2 separate regions of the Homo sapiens genome follow, and region 1 is linked to region 2. Evidence: promoter capture Hi-C in 16 types of primary human blood cells and fetal thymus (Javierre and others, 2016). All regions are on one chromosome and are shown on one strand. Each heading gives the region's core, a stretch centred on a gene start or on the middle of the fragment in contact. The rest is flanking DNA. Distances are from core to core; before and after follow the strand shown. Region 1 holds the start of TSHZ3 (teashirt zinc finger homeobox 3). Region 2 holds the start of PDCD5 (programmed cell death 5).

Region 1 (3,392 bases), core at 394-2,893, 1.2 Mb after region 2:
GCGCTCAGGCAGCCGGTGCTGGAGCGCGGGGCGCCCGCCCTCGCCGGGACTGTCGGCCTCGGGGCCTGCGAGAGCGCCAGAGCCCCAGCCGGCGCGCCCGGGCGCAGGGCCGCCTCGGGGATAGTGGGCCCGGAGGCCGCCCCCGCGCTCCAGCAGCCGCCGCCCGGCAGCGCCCGGAGCCGGCCCCGGCGCGGCCGCCCCATTCCCGGCCTGAGAGCTGGCCCAGGGAGACGCAATCGAGCCCGCAGCGCATCGATGCGCCGCCGCCCGCGCCGCTCGGGCTCCGGCTCCCGCTCAGCCGCCGCCGCCCGGGGGTCGCCCGCATGAGCTCCGGCCCACCCGCGCCCTCACCGCCGCCCGTAAGTGAGCCCGCGTCGCCCCGCCGCCCACGCCGCCCAGCCAGCTCCTTCTTGCCGCGGCCAGTCGGCCGGGCCGGCCCGGAGCCTCAGCGACCCCGATCACCAATCAATAATCAATCCCTCTAGTCCAGCAGCCCCGGCAGGCCGGGCGCGGGACACGGCGCGGCGGCCCCCTAGGCTCTCGGGGGGAGCCCCTGGCGGGGGATGGGCAGGGGAGCCCGGTTTCCTTCTCCCGCCCCCGTCCCGCCCTAGGATCGGCCCGCGCCGTGGATGGGGGGCGCGGCCCGGCTCCCGGGGGCGAGGGGCGGGGTGGAGGGACCCTGATCATCCCAAAGTCAGGAGAGGAAACTTGAAGGAACCCCCTCCCACACCGACCCCCGGGACGGGCCCAGGAAAGTTTGTCCGGGGAAAAAAAATTGGGGGAAGTGGCTACGGCGGGTCCTGGGGGAGGAGCTGGGTGGCGCGGGGTCTGAGGGCTGCCCCCACCCGCCCCGGCCCGCGCCCGCCTCCTCCCTGGAGGGGGCCTGCCCGTGGGCTCTGGCTTCCCCGGGGGACGCCAGCCCCGGCCCGGGGACCACGCTGGGGGCTCCGGAGTCGGCGGGTGGAGAGGAGTGCGAGCCGGGTGGGGCAGCTGGGGGGTGGCTGGGGACGAACGCTGGGTGGGAATAGGGGTGGGGGGTAACGAGCGCCCCGGGACGGGCTCGGCGGGGCTGGCGCCGCGCCCCCGCGTGTGCGCACGGGGCGGAGGCGGAGGGGCGGCACCCCTTTCGCTGGCGGGGCGGGGGTCCCACGCGGGCCTGGGGCCGGGGGCGGGGGCGCGGCGCCCCCGCGGGCGGGCGATTGACACGATCATCTCCTTTTCCTTTAAGCTTGCCTGTTGCCGACGCCGCCGCTCCAGCCGCGCCACGGGCAGAAGACTGGACCGCCGAGCCCCGGGCCGCGGCGGCGGCTGCGCGTCCCCCCGGATGCCGTGACCCCCGGCCTAGGGGCGGGGGCCGGGGCAGTACCGGTCCGGGCCGCTCCCGCGCTCCTCCTCCCACCGCTCTGCCCGCCCTCTCCCCGCCCCCCAGCCCCGAACCCCGCGCACCTCGTCTGGGGACGGGGCGGGGGGGGGCAGGGCCGCCGCTCCTCCCCGCCCCCTCCTCCTCTGGCCTCTGGAGCGATTTGTCAAACTTCCCATTCCGCCGGCAGCGCGGTCCTCCTCCTCCTCCTCCACCTCCTCCTCCTCTGCCTCCTCCTCCCCCCCGTGCTCCTCCCTCCCCGAGCCTCCCTCGCCCGCCCTCCTTCTTCCCTCCGCACGTTCGGGGTTCGCGGCGGAGCGCGGCGCGGGGGGGACGCGGAGAGCCTGGGCGCAGCAGCATCCTGCGGGCGGCCGCTCTCCGGGGGGGAGGCTGAGAGCAGGCCCGCCTCGCCCCCCCGCGGGCCCGCCGCCCCCTCCCTCCCTGTCCTCAGCCCGGCAGCGGCGGCGGCGGCGGCAGTGGCAGTCGCCGGAGAAGCATCATGCCGAGGAGGAAGCAGCAGGCGCCCCGGCGCGCAGCAGGTACGAGCCGCTTCCCCTTCCTTCTGCTCTCCTCCTCCTCTTCCTCCGCTCGCCCCGCGCCTCCAGCGGGCGCGACCCCGCTCCTCGCCCCGCTCTTCTGCCCGCACTGAGTAACTCCGGGCGCCGCTCTCCTGTTTGGGTGCGTGCGCCCGCCTCGGGTACCGGGCGCCCCCCGGACGCCCCGCCGCGCTCTGCCCTCTTCCCTCTCGCACCCATTTGGGGAGCCGCTCGCGGAGCGCGCTGAGCCGCGCCAGGTCCCTACCTCCTCAGCTCTCCGGCTGCAGAGGGAATGGGAAGCAACCCCGGCCTGGCTCTTTCTGTGGGTGGCGGGCGGGGTCACCTGAGTTCCCCGGGACATCTTCCGCGTCCTCCGAGCGGCCGACCGCCGGGGGACTGCCTGGTGTCCGCCGAGCCAGGGAGCGCGAACGAGTGAGCGAGCCGGTCCCCTCGGCCACCTTAGTACTAACACGATTGATTCCTCATTTCTTGGGCCCAAACTGGGCACAGCGGTGGAACCCGGAGCGCACAGGGTCTGGGTATTGTCAGATGACTGTCAAGTCCATGTTAGATGCTGGCGTTTCCTTCTCCCCTGTTTGTGTTTCCTCGCCCCCACCCCCTCCTTGTACTGCTGCTCCCACCCTCATCTCCGCATAGCACTTAGTTCTGGGACGTGTCTGAGTACTTTTTTGTTCCTCCTTTTTTTTTTTTTTTCTTCTTCTTTAACCGGGAGTGTCAACTCCTGTTAAGACTGAGCCGATTTTTTTCTTTTCTTTTCTGGAAAACGCATCATTGAAAACAAAACAAAAACCACACACATAACATTATTTTGCAATAATGTCGGTTGGGGGCATGTTGCCTGGAAGAAGGGTTTCTGGCCCGTTGCCATCCTTGATTTGATGACTGATTGATCGCCCGTCATGCTGCTGCCTTTGATCTATTCATTCCCAATAAACATCAATAAATCACTTGCAATAGTGAGGCCAAGCTCTGTGACGTCAGGAGGGCCCTGTCAGTGCAACTTTGGGATTTGGGGCGGATTGCCGAGAGGACCACATATGGACGTGATGTATTTTGATATGAGTAACACTCAGATGTGCAGAGGTTCAGATGCTCCCTGAAGGGGAGGGTTAAGTGGGGCTTCCTTTCTTTTCTTTTCTCTTCCTTTCTTTTACTTCTCTTTTGATGTTAAGAGGGAAGGGCAGAGAGTAGGGTCAGGGCATTGGCTGGTGCCCATCTTGGAGGAAGGCGTTGTAGCCATGGTGCCCTGAGTGCCCATAATTTCCATCATGCCAGCCGGCACTGCCAGGGGACCTCACACGTTGGCTGCACTCTGCACTCCAGACCCCTTACACGGGGTCACAGAGAAGGAATGATAATTCTCTCTTCTCCCAGAAATGTACTTGCCTGCCAGTGTCTTCAGAAAATCTCAGAAGAAAACAGGGTTGGTTTGGGGCTTAGGATGCAGGTTTTGCTCTCTGTCCTCGGTGTTGCCC
Region 2 (3,363 bases), core at 644-3,143:
TCTGGAAGAATCTGGGGCAAGAGCAATCTGTTTTAAAAGGCATCCTGATTTCAGATATGTGACAATGAAAAGATGTACACGGCAGAAATCAATGAAATTTGCGTCGTTTTACTTCCTATCACTACTCCAGATACTTCTCACCGTCTGTCTTCTCCCGAACCCTCCCTTCCTATTTCTGTAGACCCAGCACAGTGCCTGACCCAGAGCAGGTGCTCTATAAATATTTGCTGGAGAGGAGGAGTAAGAAGGTGAGGAAGGGGAAATAGAGAATTGTCCAGTAGCTAAAGGTTTCAGTCTTGCAAGATGAAAACATTCTAGAGTGTGAACACTACTGAAGAGCACACTTAAAAATGGTTGTGATGGTGAAATTTTATTTAACCACAATTTTTAAAAAATGATAGCATGATAGGGTAATCACATACTCATTCAATAAACCTGCCACCGAATCAATTACCTGCATCTGTCTCAGGTGCTGTGCGCTGTGTTGGGATAAAACAATCAGAATAGCTTACCAGTTAACACTTATTGAGCACTTACTAAGTGAGGCACCGGACTCACGTCACCCCCACAGCCGAGGAAACTGCCACAGCTGCCTATTATCAGGCTCATTTTTAAGGTACTCACATTGTAGCAGAGAAACATCAACCAGTAATTGCAATACAAGGTCTGATGTGGAGCTGCACACGTGTTTATTTAACAATAATGAAGATACCCTGCGGATGATTTTGGCCAAATCACCATTCCAGCAAAACAAAAAAATCTGAGTCACACACCTGCTTAAAATAACTACAGCAAAAGAAATCCATTTGGTGAAACCACCCTTCAAAAAGTTCACGTTTCCAGCCCATACCTGTGCTTTGCTTCCTGTTGGGCCGCATCACCAGGATCCTGGAAAAAAAAAACTTAAATTTAATAGAGAAATTTCACGGGAGGCGGCGGGAAAAAGGAACGGTTCTGTTGTTTCCTATACATAACAGTCTCTTGCGGTGGTAGAAACAACTCCCCAAATAAGAAACTGGGCCTCACAGAAATCAATGAACTAGTTCCCACTTACAACGTTTTGATGAACGTCTAAAACCACAACCTCAGAAGGCTTTGGAATACAGAGCACCCTGGGGAGGGGAATCCCTGTATTACGAAACCGTGTTTCACATGTAGGAATAATTTCTGGAAAATAAAACGGGCCTCGGTATTAGGGACAACGATAACTCAAAGACTGCGCCCTCCGTCCCTAAGGTCCCGGTCCCTTATCAGAAACGCCTCTCCGGGCGTGTGATCCATCCAAGCTTCCCAGGCGGCCCCTCCCTGTCATCCCGGCGGGGCAAGCGTTCCTCCGACCCTGCCGCGCTCTCAGCACCGGGAACACAGCGGACCCTCAATACCTGTCGGCTAAACTTGGGTCATAACAACTGAACTCCGGAAAAACTGAATTCGGTCCGGCTGCTGGCTCCAAAAGCTGAGATTGTGCTTGGATCCAGGCCCGCCAGGACGAGCCCGCTCCAGGCTAGGGGACCCCACACCCCAACGCCAGGGCAGGTCCCGCACGTGGCGGCCCCCGCCGCCAGCCTCCTGGGCCCCTCGCGACGAGGAAAGCGACGAGGCCACCTCTGAGCCGGCCACGAGGCCGCCAGGGCAGCGCAGGGGACCGGGGCCCCGGGGAGGCGCCCAGAGCCTCCGCCCCGGAGGCGCGCCCTACACTCCGGGCGAGGGCGGCGCCCCGCGAGGGCCAAGCCTGGCGGGGGCTGATGCGCTCACCCCGTGTTTGGCCTGCAGCTCGGCCAGCCTCTGTCTCCTCAGCGCCTCAAGCTCCTCGTCCGCCATGGCTCGGCGTCAGCGCTGGAGCAGCCGCGGTCACTCTCGCAGCCCCTCGGCGCGAGCGCGGCCTTGACCACTGCGCAGGCGCTCGCGGGGCCCAGGCGCCACCAATCCAGCCCGGAGCCACGCCCCGCGCCGCTGCCAGGGCGCCGGCAGAGGCCCGATTCCCCGATTTCAGGCGGTCGAGCTTGGGCGCACGGAGGGGCGGGGCCTGGGGCGGGGCCTCCGGGATCCACCTCCCACCCGTGATCGGCGCCTCTGCGTGCAGGGACTTGGGCTGCGCTGGGGCGGGGCTGCGCTTTGGAAAGGTTAAAACCTGAAAGTGTGGCATCAACAAGTATAATAATTATGGGTGCAATGTGCTGGTGACCTAGAGGGTTAGGCGTATATTATCTCTATTTATAGATGAGGAACCAGGGGCGCAGGAAGGCTGAGTGGGGTGATGGAAATGTCCTAAAGCTGGATCGTGGCGGTGGCTGCCCGGCTCCTCGGTGCACACAGAGGCCGGCCGGTGGCTCGCCGCCTGTGGTCCCGACGCTTCGGGAGGCGGTAGGGTCATTTGAGGTCAGGAGTTAGAGACCAGCCTGGGCAATATGGCAAGAGCCTATCTCTACTAAAATTTTAAAAAACTAGTTGGGCGCGGTGATGTGCACCTGTAGTCCCAGCTACTCAGGAGGCTGTGTCAGGAGGATCGCTGGAGCCCGGAAGTTCGAGGCTGCAGTGAGCCTTGATCTCGCCACTGCACTCCAGCCTGGGAGACACAGCCAGACCCTGTCTCTAAAAAAAAAAAAAAAAAAAAAAAAAGTGCACATCTGCCTCCTCGCCATCTGCCTCCTCCACGCACAAAAGGGCTTTTCCTGGGAGGATACTGCAGTGGGCAGCTGTGGCTGGTGTAAACTCTTTGGTGGAACAAATCCCTTCTGCCTTTGACTTGGGGGAATTGGGGGCAGAGAGGATATTCAGCTACCTAAACGTGTGACTCATACAGATTCTGTTTGTTTGTCTGTGTGTGTGTTATTTTATTTTTTACATTAAAAAAATACAGATGGGGTCTCGCTATGTTGCCTAGGCTGGCCTCTATCTCCTGAGCTCAAGCAATCCTTTTGCCTCAGCCTCCCAAACTGCTAACATTACAGGCATGAGCCACCACACCTGGCCTGTGTGTTTTAATTGTGGCAAAATATACACAATACAAAATTTACCATTTTCACCATTTTTAGGTGTACTTTTCAGTGGTATGAAATGCATTATCGTGCAGTTGTCACTCAATCTCAGCTCACTGCAACCTCCACCTCCCGGGTTCAAGCGATTCTCCTGCATCAGTCTCCCAAGTAGCTGGGACCACAGGCGTGCACCACTGTGCCCGGCTAATTTTGTATTTTTTAGTAGAGATGGGGTTTCACCATGTTGGTCAAGCTGGTCTCGAACTTCTGACCTAAAGTGATCCACCTGCCTTGGTCTCCCAAAGTGCTGGGATTACAGGCATGAACCACCTTGTCCACCATCAATCTCTACAACTTTTTTTTTTTATCATCCTGAACTGGAACT

Evidence for each region. The method cuts DNA at HindIII sites, captures the fragments that hold promoters and counts their contacts. A CHiCAGO score of 5 or more calls a contact.
Region 1: a contact is called between the fragment with the promoter of TSHZ3 here and the fragment with the promoter of PDCD5 in region 2, in 2 of 17 cell types (M2 macrophages and monocytes). The highest score is 6.4, in M2 macrophages.

Annotation. Positions count from the first base shown.
Region 1 is chr19:31,347,687-31,351,078 of GRCh38, reverse strand. It overlaps TSHZ3 (teashirt zinc finger homeobox 3), which reads left to right and starts at 1,643. Exons shown (of 2, transcript NM_020856.4): 1 at 1,643-1,899. The coding sequence starts at 1,860. TSHZ3-AS1 (TSHZ3 antisense RNA 1) reads right to left here. Exons shown (of 3, transcript XR_002958388.2): 1 at 2,162-3,392. The HindIII fragment of the contact is 11,306 bases long and covers 1,231-3,392 here.
Region 2 is chr19:32,579,720-32,583,082 of GRCh38, reverse strand. PDCD5 (programmed cell death 5) reads right to left here and starts at 1,893. Exons shown (of 6, transcript NM_004708.4): 1 at 1,756-1,893; 2 at 851-888. The coding sequence starts at 1,821. RefSeq lists silencers at 1,892-2,068, 1,414-2,143 and an enhancer at 2,354-2,443. The HindIII fragment of the contact is 4,450 bases long and covers 1,289-3,363 here.